2 separate regions of the Homo sapiens genome follow, and region 1 is linked to region 2. Evidence: promoter capture Hi-C in human tissues and cell types (Jung and others, 2019). All regions are on one chromosome and are shown on one strand. Each heading gives the region's core, a stretch centred on a gene start or on the middle of the fragment in contact. The rest is flanking DNA. Distances are from core to core; before and after follow the strand shown.

The links. The method cuts DNA at HindIII sites, captures the fragments that hold promoters and counts their contacts. A contact is called where the count stands out against the background at its distance.
Region 1: a fragment that was not itself captured here is called in contact with the fragment with the promoter of HACL1 in region 2 in 1 of the 25 tissues and cell types used here (hippocampus).

What each region holds. Positions count from the first base shown.
Region 1 is chr3:16,048,402-16,055,334 of GRCh38, forward strand. No RefSeq gene overlaps it. Among named protein-coding and RNA genes, the nearest start is that of GALNT15, 120 kb to the right of the region's middle. The HindIII fragment of the contact is 6,949 bases long and covers 225-6,933 here.
Region 2 is chr3:15,596,476-15,603,067 of GRCh38, forward strand. It overlaps HACL1 (2-hydroxyacyl-CoA lyase 1), which reads right to left and starts at 5,094. Exons shown (of 17, transcript NM_012260.4): 1 at 4,908-5,094; 2 at 4,615-4,719. The coding sequence starts at 4,988. It overlaps BTD (biotinidase), which reads left to right and starts at 5,270. Exons shown (of 4, transcript NM_001370658.1): 1 at 5,270-5,419. RefSeq lists an enhancer at 4,999-5,641 and a silencer at 5,483-5,542. The HindIII fragment of the contact is 8,334 bases long and covers 398-6,592 here.

The DNA of each region.
Region 1 (6,933 bases), core at 2,449-4,948, 450 kb after region 2:
TAATCTGGCCCAGCCAATGTCCCTGACCCCACTTCTTGCTCTGCCCCCTTAAAACCTGTGCTCTAAATTCCACCATCTTGAACTGGCATCCTGGCAGCTCCCTGAATTCCTAATGCTTCCTTCCATCCCTGACTCCTATCTCTCCTTCAGAACTCAGCCTGGGTACCGCCTGCCTTTCCTAACTATTTAATATCTGCCCTTCCCCCAAAAGGCCAGTCCAGGCATCCTTTGTACACTCTCAGCATTGTCTGCATACTCTGCATGACATTTGTCCTACTATTTTATAATAATCTATTCACTTGTTTGTCTACCAGCCTTGAGGGCAGCACTCTATCTTGTTTATTTGTGTATGTCCTCGTGCAGAGCCTGGAACATATTAGGTGCTGTTTGCATGAATGAATGATTGACGAAAGAGAAAGCAACCATTGCCCTAGGAGTTGTTCTAGGATCTGTTATTTGTTTAATGGCCACCAGAGGGGGGCAGACGAACAGGGTCCAGTGCACAGCACCCATCTAGAACTCTGGGTAGAGAATGTAAATACTTATTCTAGGGCTGGAAGGGAAGTTCAATGGTCATGTAAAGCGTTCCTCTGTTTTAGACAAAAATTAAACAAACCTTTCCAGGTAAGCACAGTGATATTTAAAGTTTTAAGTCAAAAAGAATTGTTTGAATCTAGGCAGACTTTAAATCTGAAGAGTTGGATTCTGGTTCCAATTCTAACATTATTTAGCTTGTCTGATCTCAGATGAGACCCTTGGATTTTGGAGACTCAGTTTCTGAATCTGACAAATGGGTGACATACTCATTTTTTCTACCTCCTGGGAGTGTTTTGTGACCCACAGGTAATAATGCACACAAGCACCCTAAAAATGACAAGTAACAAATAAAGTATAATAAAAATCAGGGGCTAAATAAAAATAATTTCAATCTCCCTTGTTCAAAATTAGTTTTCTGAAATGTGAGCTGAAAGCCAAGTATAAGCATGGAGTTGAAATGAGCATGGACTTGTGTTGAGACCACAGATGCATCAAGATTTCAAGCTGTGCATTATTTAGGCCATTTTATTCATTTGGCTCCCATTTGACCACCTCAGCTGCACTGCCAGAGGCCAGCTAATCCCTCTGCATCTAGCATCATCTATGCCTGGATAATTCACGTATCTCACCACACATGTATATCATTTCTTTCTTTTGTAAATGTGCATGAATGTTGTTACAATGAATAAAACACAAATTCATAGAAAAACTTTCATGAGTTTCCAGTCACATTTACCATAATCTATTTTTTCTTAAGAGATGGGGTCTAGCTCTGTAGCCCAGGCTGGAGTGCAATGTCACAATCATAGTACACTGCAGCCTTGAACTCCTGGACTCAAGCAATCCTCCTGCCTCAGCCTCCTGAGTAGCTGGGACTACAGGTGTGCACCAGCATGCCCAGCTATTTTTTTTGTAGAGATGGGGGTCTCACTATGTGGCCCAGGCCAGTCTCCAGCTCCTGGTCTCAAGCAATCCTCCCACCTCGGCCTCCCAAAGTGCTGGGATTGTAGGCATGAGCCACTGCAGCTGGACCCATAATATATTTTAAAAATCAACATATATTTAAAAATATATTTAGGATTGAGTTGCATTATATGCATATTGAACCTATGCAAACATGACTCTGTGGGTTTAGCAAAACAAAAAGAAAAGAAAAAGAGAAAAAAGAAATTCTTACAAACAGCAAAACAGAAATTAAACCACCATCTTTTTTTTTGAGACAGAGTCTCACTCTGTCACCCAGGCTGGAGTGCAATGGTGCAATCTCGACTCACCGTAACCTCCGCCTCCTGGGTTCAAGGGATTCTCCTGCCTCAGCCTCCCGAGTAGCTGGGACTATAGGCATGTGCCACCACGCCTGGCTAATTTTGTATTTTTAGTAGAGATGGGGTTTCACCACGTTGATCAGGCTGGTCTTGCACTCCTGACCTCAGGTGGTCTGCCCACCTTGGCCTCCCAAAGTGCTGGGATCCCACAGTCTTTTAATAGAGTTGGTGATTTGGCTCCATGAAGGGATGGATGCCCAGGCTGAGCACAGATTGGTGGATGTGACTGCTTCCCCTCAGTGGGTTTCAGCTCTTGCCCAAACCTCTCATGATAGAGTGTATTTCTGTATTTGTCAGTAATTTAAGAAGTTTTAAAGGGAAACTTTTACATGAGCAATCATTTTGTCTTATATTTATCTTTTGAAGCCAGCTCACCATAGAAGATGCTACTCCACATGTGGAGGGAACATGACATTTTGGGGCACAAAATAGGAATCCATCAGTGGAAACACTGATCTAGCCTAGAAAACAGACTCCCAGTGCCTTCCCAGAGATTGGGGTGGAACCCAGACCTTTCTCGTTAAGATCAGTGCTCTTTCTACCCACAGCTGTGCTAGTTAACATGCCTTGCACTCTGGAGCCCATCCTCCCCGCAGGCCTGGGGGAATCCGTGAACGCCTAAACTGTGCATACAGCCGAGGCTACTCTTTCAGTACAGGCAGTCTATCCCCACGCAGACAGTTTTTACTCACAAATGTTTGTTTTTCAGGGTCCTGCCTGGTCATCATTTCCACTGTCTTTCATGTGTTACCTTTATATTGGAATCAGAATGTGAGCTGGAAGCAATTTTCAAGCCGGTTTTGAACCTCGGTCAGGGCAATCAGAGGCATGTGTGAAGAAATCGCTGAGGCTGGGCAGCCTTCAGGCCACCAGCACTTGGTTTCCTTTTCTCCCTTCCTCCCTCAGTAATGTGACGGCCAGATGCATCCTATGCCCCAGCACCACCTCACCCTCTGGCCTGGTTTTTGAGCTTCCTTTTCCTCTTGGGTGAGGCCATGTTTCCTTGATACTTCTGGCCTCTATTCCTTGAAGGCCGGAAGGCACTCTTGGGGCGGGGGAGGGCCAGTCCCTCGACATGGAGGGGAGGGTGCTGAGAGGGGTGGGGGCAGCAACAGCAGCTGGCAGGCCCAGGGTGTGAGCGGGCAGGCCTCTGTGGGCACCGGGACAATGGCTCGCTCACCCCCTCACCCTCTAAACTCAGCAAGGCTGAAGCGCTGTTTGGTGCTGGCTTCCCTCCTCTCTGGTGGGTGAAGAGGTCTCCCTATGAGGGGAAGTTCAGCATTGAGCTTCCACAGCAAACTCTCCAAATGCCAAAGGAGGCTGTGGAAATTAGGATTATCATGGCTCCAGAGGTTTACGGACCATCTTGAAAATCTGAGGTAGATTTTATCTGGGGTGGTGGAAGTTTTCTCTGGCTCCCATGGCTGGCTGGCTGGCCTGAGCTTCTATGGACAGAATTTTGTTAGATCCCAAGGAAAACTTGCCAATGCTGAGAGCTCGTAGACACCAGAATAGGTTGTGAAGACAGTGGAATCTACTTTGGCGGTCCTTAAAAATAGAATAACTTCTCTTCACTCTGTAATGGTCTGGAATGACAGTCTGTTAAAAAAAAAAAAAAAGGAAAACATGACAACCACAAAGCTCTTAATTTTCAACAACTCTTGAGTTTAAGCTGTTTTAGATTTGCTGCAAGTCCTCACATCCTTTGATTGCCTGTACAATATTAAACACATATTGAAGACGCTTTGCAACATGCCCAGATACTAGAGCTCCAACGCAGAGGAAGGAAATTAATATTTGGCAGAAAATCCCAGGGACACAACTTTGTTTGGAAAATTATGTCTACCACACAAATGGAAATTAAAATTCACCTCTGAGGGACTGATAGGATTTTTCCCCATTAAGTAACCTCCTACCTCTGTTTAATTGTGTAAGGAAGTTTGTAACCTCTGCATACTCTCGCCAGGCTCTGTCCTCATTTCCTCACCTCTTTTGTAATCTAGGTCCCAAGACTTCTAGAAGACTCTCTCGATGGGTCTTTATTCCCCAATCGCTGCTTTAACAGAGACATGTGGAGGCAGGAGACTGGGACGAGGGAGGCAGCTGAGAGGCAGTTAAGGGAACACTGAACCGAGACCCTCTTTCACTCCCTTTGCCTTCTCCAGCCATACCCTCGGACCTTGGTCCTCTATACTTGGCTATGGTTTCTGAACCCAAGCAATGACATGGGATCTGACAAGGGCAAGTGTACTTATGGGCAAAGCAGGATGTGGTGTACTTGAGACTGGTTCTGTCCCAGGGAATTGGGAATCCTAGTGATGGGTCACATACGAATCCCCTAACTAAAAAATCAGGTACATGCCAGTTCACTTCTTTAGACCTTGTTTGTGTGGCAAGAATGTCACATACAAAAGAATTCATGCATAGATGAGGCCATGTCAGTCATGACTTAGTGTGAGAGCCATTTTAGGATGTTGGGCAGCCCTGGGCATGCGATCTTTGGTGGCGTCTGCACCATCCCAAATGCAGTAAAAGGTCCTTCCACCTCCTTGGGAAGTACATGGATGTGGCAGTTGACATCATATAATGTTCAACGTGCACTTAAACATTTATTGAATTATATTTATTCTATTTGAGAGACAATATCATTTTTTTTAGGTCTCAAATATTTCTTAGGGCATTCAAAATTACTGTGCCTGTAGAGCCAGTGGATAAAATGTCCTAGGCATGGAACACTGGCCTAGAGGACTAGACATGAAAAATAAAGTATGCATACCCCTTTAGCAATACCCTGCAAATGCAAACATAAGCATGACCTTAAAATGTATGTTTATGGTGAGGAGAGGGCAGTGGTGCTGTTGAGAGAAGGAAGAGTCTCAAAATTTCCAGTGAGCAGAAATTACTTGACTCATCCTGACTGTCTTCTCATCCTGACTGTCTTCTCATTCTGACTGTCTTCCTTGGGAGTGAATGGAAAGTAATAATGTTAATTAAAGGGGAGCAAATGTCCTTAGGTTTGCCTTTATTTGGGGGAATAGTTTTTGTTTTATTTTTAGGGAACCTTCAGGCTGCTTCCCAATGATGGGGCCCATGACTTTGGCACTATAGTTCCCTCATCACAAAGTCTTCCACCATGAAGGTCTCTAGGACCCCCACCATAGGTATGAGACTCTTTCCATTTGTAAGGAATGGAGGGGAATACTCAGTTGAAAATTTGACGATGGGTATTCACATTCATTTTAAGGATACACAAGGAAAGTGAGGAGTGCTGTTTTGTCTCAGCAAGTGCACTGTTATCCACACGACAAATATTTGTTGAGCACCGACTGTGTGATGACTGTGTTCTAGGCTGTAAGGACTCTAGCAGTGAACAAGACAGATAAGGTTCCTACTTGCACGGAGCTTGTATGTTTGATGGATAAGAAACAAAGGGCATAAATGAATGAGGTGACTTCAGATGGTGGTAAGTGCTATGAAGGAAAGAATCTGGTAACATGGTAAAGAGGGATAGGGAGAAGGGTGTGAGGCTACTTTAGATTGCATGGTCTGAAAGATTTCTTAGGAAGTAGAATTGTAACCAAGCCTTGAGAGTTCTGAAGGAGCCAGCTGGGAGTAGGTCTGGGAGCAGAATTTTCCAGGCATAGGAAGGTACTGTTGCAATGCCCCTAAAACTTTGGCAAGTTTTAGGAACACAAAGAAAGCCAGTGGGGCAGAAGCATAGGGAGTAAGGGTGAGTGCTGGGAGATGAGGTCAGGCCCAGAGAAAACCACAATGTGTTCAACACTAGTCCCAGTGGTTGCACTGGTGCCCCAAATATCTTGTCCCCACAGAATTGAAATCAATTTTTTTCTACTCCATTAATTCTGTCACCCTCATGACTCAGTAGCTTTTTGAATGGGCTTCTCTCTCTCAGTGCCTCATCATGAACATCTTTCTGCTTTTCTATCCCTCTCTTAATTCATTTTGCATTAAAAATTCCCAAGGGTGAGGATCTGGGTATGTTGATTAATACTATCTAATAAGAAGTGGTCCTATTGGTCAGAGTCTCACACTAGGCTTTGTTATTGGCTGCTGGTCTCCCTTAGGTCCAGCTTCCTTGGCCTGGACTCCTGGTTCAATCAGTTGTGGCCAGGGTCTTATGACCTAGAGCTTGGCAACTTATTTTGAAGGAAACTGTAATAACTACTTTCATCAGGATCAAGTTGTGTATTGTGTACTGTGCCAAAATTAAAGAGACTGACAGAATTCTTAGAGAAAGGATATATATGATCATCTCACAGGCTATGAACCTAATGAGGCTTTTTACAAAGGGCTTAGTTCTTAGCTACTCACTGAACATTCCCCAGGGACAACTGAGTCTGATCCTGTACCATCCAGATCTAAACACTTAGAGGTTAGCTGTTCAATGTAACCTCTTCCTATTGGCTTTTTCTTTCTGCCAATTATATCTTTCATTCCCACATGCATTTATGGTATGTCCTTGCCATTTTCTTTCTCCTTTATCTGGACTGACTATGTGGATGGCTTTAACATACAGAACAGAGCAGAAGTACTTTATATAAGAGAACTGCAGCATCCACCTGTTGGAACACCCCTTCATGGAACCCAGCTACTGTGCTGCAAGGAAGCCCAATTAGCCATGTGAGAAACCAAACTGGATAACTGAGGCCTCCAACCAGCAGCCCCAGCTGAGCTCCCAGCTGACAGCCAGCACTAATTGACATTTATGTGAGTGAAGCCATTTAGGGCCTTCTAACAATCCCAATGCCCCCAGCCAACCTTAGTTTAGTATACACACACCTTACCCCAGCCAAACCCAGTGAAGTATTCACACACCGGATCAACCCACAGAATTGTGAGAAATAGCAAACTGTTTTGTTCAAAGTCCCTAAGCTTTAGAGTGGTTTTATGCAGTAATAGTTAACCTTGCAAGGGACAGTAAATAGATTACACTGAATGCATCATATTCAGCCTTATAGAACTTCAGAATCAGATACAGATAGCAAGGGCTGTAGGCCTATGAAAATTGAAAATGAAATTTTCATTTTACTTGATAATTGTTTCTTTGGAG
Region 2 (6,592 bases), core at 3,844-6,343:
TTTATGACAGCAACTTACTATTAAATAATAGACAAGAACATAGTGGTAAAGGCAGAATTAAAATATTTCCAACCTTAGTAATAAATGTTCTACACATAAATTTCAAATAATGGTTATCTAAATTTTAGTTTTTCAGGAAATTTGTTCATATGTATGTTATTCAAAACATCCTCTTACAATTGCTTAAATATCTGCAGGATCAATAGGAATGTCCTCTTTTATTAACAATATTGGTAATTTGTTTTCTTTCTTTTATTCTTCATCAGTCTCATGAGGGGTTTATCAAATTTATCCATCTTTTCAAAGAACAAATTTTTTTAGTTCTTCGAAAATTTTTGTTGGTTTTTCTCTATTGTTTGTTTTCTATTTCATTGATTTCTGTTCTTGTATTTATTATTTCAGTCATTTTGAATTTGATTTGCTTTTCTTTTTCTAGCTTCTTAAAATACAAATTTAGAACACTGGTTTTTAATTTTCTTTACTAATAATTTGTTTAAAATGATTCCAAGAACTGCTTTAGTTATAGGTTACAAGTTTGAGTTGCATCTTTTCATTATCATTCTATTCAAAATATTTTCTACTTTCCATTGTGATTTCTTCTTCAACCCATTGGTTAATTAGGATCTGTAGTGATACCTCCTTTTTCATTCCTGACATTGGTAATCTGTTTTCTCTTTTATTCTCAATCAGTCTATCTTGAAGTTTATTCATTTTGTTAATCTTTTCAAATATTTACAAAATACCAAAAAGTATGTTGCTTAATTTCCAAAGGTCTGAGATTCTTTTTAGTGATCTCTTATTGAGTTCCACTTTACTTCCACATGGTCAGGTGACATATACTGCACGCTTTCAATCCTTGGCGATTTATTGAGATTTCCTTTATGGCCTGCATATGGATAGTTTTTACCTTGTAACTCTACTTCAGCTCATAATCAGGAAGAGAGGGGGCACTAAATTAAATGCACACAAGATAACCTGGGAAAATGCTGAGTGCTCTCTCAAATTCTTCTTAGTCTGGGACATCATTTTTTTCCCAGTATTATTTCTTCTCATTTCTTTAGAAATAATAATGAATTGCGTATTTCCTAGCCTTCATTCAGCTTTAAATGAAGTAGTATACTGTCTTAAAGAACTCCACATTAACGACATAAATGTGGAAAAAAAAAAAAAGGAAATGTTTATGGATCATAATCTTAACTGGCTCTACTATCATACACCCACTGAGAACCTGCACAAAGACTCTGCTCTTTTCCTGTGTCGCTATTCTCTACTGGCCCCATCTCTCTTTCCTTTTGCACATAAGGCCAAATTCACATTAGGAGAATAAGACAACTCCTAAGAAATGCAGGCATGTAAATACCTGCTGCAATAAGAACACTTTATTTAGACACCCAAAAGAATTGCCCACTTATGATAGCTAGGTAAGAAATGTTGCTAGGCAATGCAAAATATACAACAACACGTAACAAAAAGTATATTCCTCTGGTAGGAAATGTCAAAAGTTGAGAGGTAACTGTTTTGTTTTGTTTTATTTTGTTTTGTTTTGTTTTTTTTTTTTGAGACAGAGTTTCGGAGTTTCGCTCTTGTTGCCCAGGCTGGAGTGCAATGATGCAATATTGGCTCACGGCAACCTCCACCTCCCAGGTTCAAGCAATTCTCCTGCCTCAGCTTCCCGAGCAGCTGGCATTACAAACATGCACCACCACGCCTGGCTAATTTTATATTTTTAGAAACGGGGTTTCTCCATGTTGGTCAGGCTGGTCTCAAACTCCTGACCTCAGGTGATCTGCCTGCCTCAGCCTCCCAAAGTGCTGGGATTACAGGCGTGAGCCACCGCGCCTGGCCATAACTGGTTTTATGACCATAAAAGATCTGTTCCTCTACTAAACTACCTCCATTCACAGGCAGAACAGTGTACATGGTACTTAGAGAGTGGACTCTCGAGCCAATCTGTTTTGATTTAAATCCCAGCTTCCCCACTTTCTACTGTGTAATTTTGGCAAGTTGCTCTAAATCTCTGTTTCTTCATCTATAAAATGAAAATAATTCAAAGCACTGCTGTGAGGATGAAATCAGTTCGTATGTGTAAAACACTCAAAATAGTGCCCACACACAGTAAGCTCTCAAGAACAATGAACTTGCTGACAATCTGCCTACTTGCTGGCCAATTGGTCAGTATGTCTTGATTACTCTATGGATCTAATCAAAGACAATGAAGTCACACCCAACTACATCTTTCTCTTTATCACAAACATGTCCTGAATGCCTTAGCCTGTTTTCATGTTCCCTCTGAATCATTCTGTCACTACCCTTAGTTCAGGTACCATTTAAGTCTTCCTTTGACTACCATAGAGTCAGGATGCTTGAGGGACATATGCACTGGGATGTTCCACCAACATCTCAAATGCATGTGTTCAAAATTGAACATCACCTTTCTCCTCCAAGCTGGCTCTTCCCTCTATATTCCCAGTCTCAGTCACAGACAATATGATCTACACAATCAATCAAGTAAGCCCAAAATCTAGGAATCATCTCCAGAGGAGCCTGCCTCCTCTTTCCTAACTGGTTAATGCCTGCTTATCCTTCAGGACAGCTCAGACATCATCTCCTGTGGGAAGCTGAGCCTGGGTACTCCTTCTCTGGGCTTTATAGCACCCTGGATATCTCTCTATCACAGCACTTACCACCTTATAATACAATTGTCTGTGTCTGTCTCCACAGCTTGGCTGTAAGCCCCTTAAAGCCAGGAACTATCATTCATCTCTGTATCCAGCACCCAACACAGCACATGGGACCTAAAGAACCCTCAACTAAGCTTATAGGGGCTGAAATAAAACTTAGAGACAGAGGTCGTGCTATGTTGCCCAGGCAGCCTCTAATTCCTGGACTTGAGTAATCCTCCTGCCTCAGCCCCCTTCGTAGCTGGGATTACTGGCATGTACAACCATGCCTCGCATCATCTTTCTGAAGTACAAATCTAATTACATCGCCCACCTGTTTAGAAAAACCTTTAGTCTCCCCCATTGCCTACTGTTAAAAAAAAAAAAAAATTCAAACTCTTTTTAGATTTCCCACAACCTCCCCTCAACCTACCTACCAGTCTCACAGCTCACCATGCCTTTACCTACCTTGAGGGAACCACATGAACTAACATTACCTCTACAGGCAATCTTCTCTGTCCTCAAAGAGAACCAGTCACCCCTTCTGTGCTACTACATCTATTGTGAGAGTTATAATAGATGAGTCTTTTTCTGTAAGTCTTACCCTCACCTTCCAGGACTGATCAACGTGAAGATCAAGACTAAACCTCACTCCTTCTTTACATCCCTCTCTCCTACAGGTTATGTAGCACAATCCTTAGTATACAGTACTTAGTCAATAAATGTTTGCTGTATGAAGAAATCAGTGGCAGATATGTCATCTCTACAAAAACAGTTAAGTATAGGTTCCATTCATAGGTCAATAGCTTCATTTTTTCACACAGATGAAAGAACAGAATGTTGTTCTAACAAAGACAAGTAAAATGTAGAAGCAACAGAAACTCAAAACCTCCTAGTTTTAAGATTAAAAAATACAAATCTCAAACCTTGTAGATAAAGAATGTCATTCAATAAAGAATGTCATTCAATAAAGAATGTCATTCAATTAATAAATAATGTATAATATTAAGCATCTACACCACGTGAAAGCACAAACCAAGCCAGGCACTGTGGTGATATAACAAATGAATCACAACTTCTGCCCTCCAGGCACTCATGTATGATGGCAAAAGGCACCACTTAGGGTGGCCAGGCAGTTGTTTGGGCAAGAGGAGGCAAGAATTTAAATTAGAAGGCAACGGTGGGAGTGTAAAGCAGGAATATTTAGCCTCAGCTGGACTGAGAGTATGTGATATCACAGAAGTGGATTCTTGACCTTTCAAGCCCGCACTACTGAGAGAAGAGCAAGGTGGATTGGCAGAGGATGCACTTAAAGTGGATTGACAAAACGTCGTATCTTCCTTATCCTGCTTCCAAATAAGCCTCTAAGAAAGGTGGCAGCATGATGTGGTGGAAAAAGCATCAGGCTAGGATCTGAGCCATCTGAGTTTCCATCAAGGCACTACCATTTGTGATATCCTCCACCCTGCCCCGAACCAATCATACAACAAAGCCTTGGCCTTCACTCATTTATCCCACAGGTAATCTCTGAACACCTTTCTTATGCAGGCACCACACTAAGCACTGGGGGTACAGATGTGTCGTGAAGAAATAATATCCCTGCTCTAATGGAGCTTGTAGCCTAATAGGGAAGTCAGACTTTACTCATAAACTGTCCATTCCAATCATGACATACAGTATAGTAGTAAGAGAATGGACTCAGACCCAGAATACGTGGGTTCAAACCCTGGCTCTGCTACTACCAGCTGTGTCACCAAAGGCAAGTTTTACTTAACCTGTGTCTTTTCTCATCTGTCAACTTGGTGTAACAACAGTTAATATTCAACAGTGATTGATATGATATATGTAAAGTAGCAGAAGAGTGGTAAGCGCTATCTGGGTGTTTGCAATGCATACCTACCGCTATTACTGATCATTCCCAGTAACGCATTCAGCCACCTGAGTCCATACTCACCGCTTGCTCATTCCTCATCCCGATGTACTTGATGCCTAGCTGCTGGGCAGCAATGGCGATTTCGGTCACTGGGATGCCTACGATGCCAAATATGTACTCCACATCCTGAGGAACGAAGAACAGGGGAGTAAACTCCCAAGGCCCCACCATATCGCCACATCCTTCCCTCCCTCCCGGGCGCTAAAAGGAAAACCCCCCGACCCCCATCGCCCATTTCTACTCGTCTCCAAGACAACATCGCGGTCCCCGCCAGCTTCCGTAGGAGCCTTTCATTCCAGGAAGGTCCATCGTACTTGCGTTTTCAGGGCCTGAGCGATGACTTTAGCACCAGACACCTGCTCCTCGCTGCGCTCTGCGAAGTTACTGTCCGGCATCTTCCACCGAAAAGCTCTAAGCACTCACGCAGCCGGCAAACAAGCGGAATCATCCAGCAAGGCAAACGCGAAATCGGCAGCACGCCACCTCTGGTACTGCACCTCTGACGGACAGGAGGGCAACCAACTGCCTTAAACAACGGGAAGGAAGAGGCGGTCTAAATTCGTCCACTTCCCGGGAGAGGTGAGAATGTAAACACGCGCGTTCTCCAATCAGAACTGCGCTCTCTTCTCGGCTCCTCCATTCGCGCGCCAGAATGCCAGAGGGAGGCGGGACTAGCAGGAGATTGCTGCCTATGCAAAGCAGGTAAGAAGCCGAACTCTGAGGCCTCTCGCCATTGTCTCCGAGTCGGCCAGCTGGAGCGTTTTCGGGGCTGTAAAGGGAGAATGGCGCATGCGCATATTCAGGGCGGAAGGCGCGCTAAGAGCAGGTACGGAGGGGGCGTGGTGCGGCGCGGAGGGGGTGTGGTAAGGGCGTGCGGTCCAGACCCCGCCCCGGGCGCCCAGTTGGACTTGGGGAGGGCTGCGCAAAGGCTGCCGGGAGCTGGGAAGCCCGGCGCGCGTCGTTTGCTGGGGCTGTTTGTGCGTTGCTGCTGTGCTACCGCGTTGCGTTTTCTAGGCATTTACTTACACGCTTTGTGGTTTACGCTCTCATAACCTTGTGGTTTTATAGTCCTTAAATTATTGTAGCGCACGTTACTTAAATCCAGAAGCAGATGTGTACCCCAGCAAGAGATAAAATGACGCTCAGAGTCAGTAGATCCAGACCGTGCCTGAGATCCTGAATCCTGTTTCCTACCCACTATTCAGCCATTGGGTCACAAGCGATGAAAAGAGCACCTTGAAGGTAGTATAGAGCACTGTTTTCTCCAGCCCTTGCTACTAATCCATATTACTCTCCGCTAATATCTTTCCAAAATTAGGAACTATGGCGTTTCATAATTCTTAGGTTGGGTCCCTACCTACAACCAGCCCTGCACCCGATAGCCTTTTAAAACATTTTTGTGTGAAAATCGTTTGCAATGTGCAATATCTGAAACTACTGCCTTGGAGTCATTAGACCCTCTGCTCAGTGACAATAAACATAAAATTTCCAATTGTAATAAACAGTGGAACTTTTAATTTTTTGAGGATTTGGAGTCATTTTAAGCAAAAAGAACAGTGATAAGTGGACAGTAAAGAGATGAGAGGGGAGTGGGTCATGGGTAGTGAAATGAGTGAGAAGCACTGGAAGTGAAACGATTTCTAAACCCAGACATTTTCAAACTGTAGTCCTGGGTCTTTTCAAAAGGTCTTCCCCTCTTTTTCTCAACCCCTCAACCCCACCCCAAGCAGAGGAGAGTGAAGTGGTTGCCTCCCTGCATATGTGGACGGTGTTAGTCCATTTTCATACTGCTATAAAGAAATACCCAAAACTGGGTAATTTATAAAGAAAAAGAGGTTTAATGGTCTCACAGTTCCAAATGGCTACGGAGGCCTCACAATCATGGCAGAAGGTGAAGGAGGAGCAAAGGCATGTCTTACATGGTGGCAGGCAAGAGAGCGTGTGCAGGGGAACTGCCCTTTATAAAACCATCAGATCTCATGAGACTTACTATCATTAG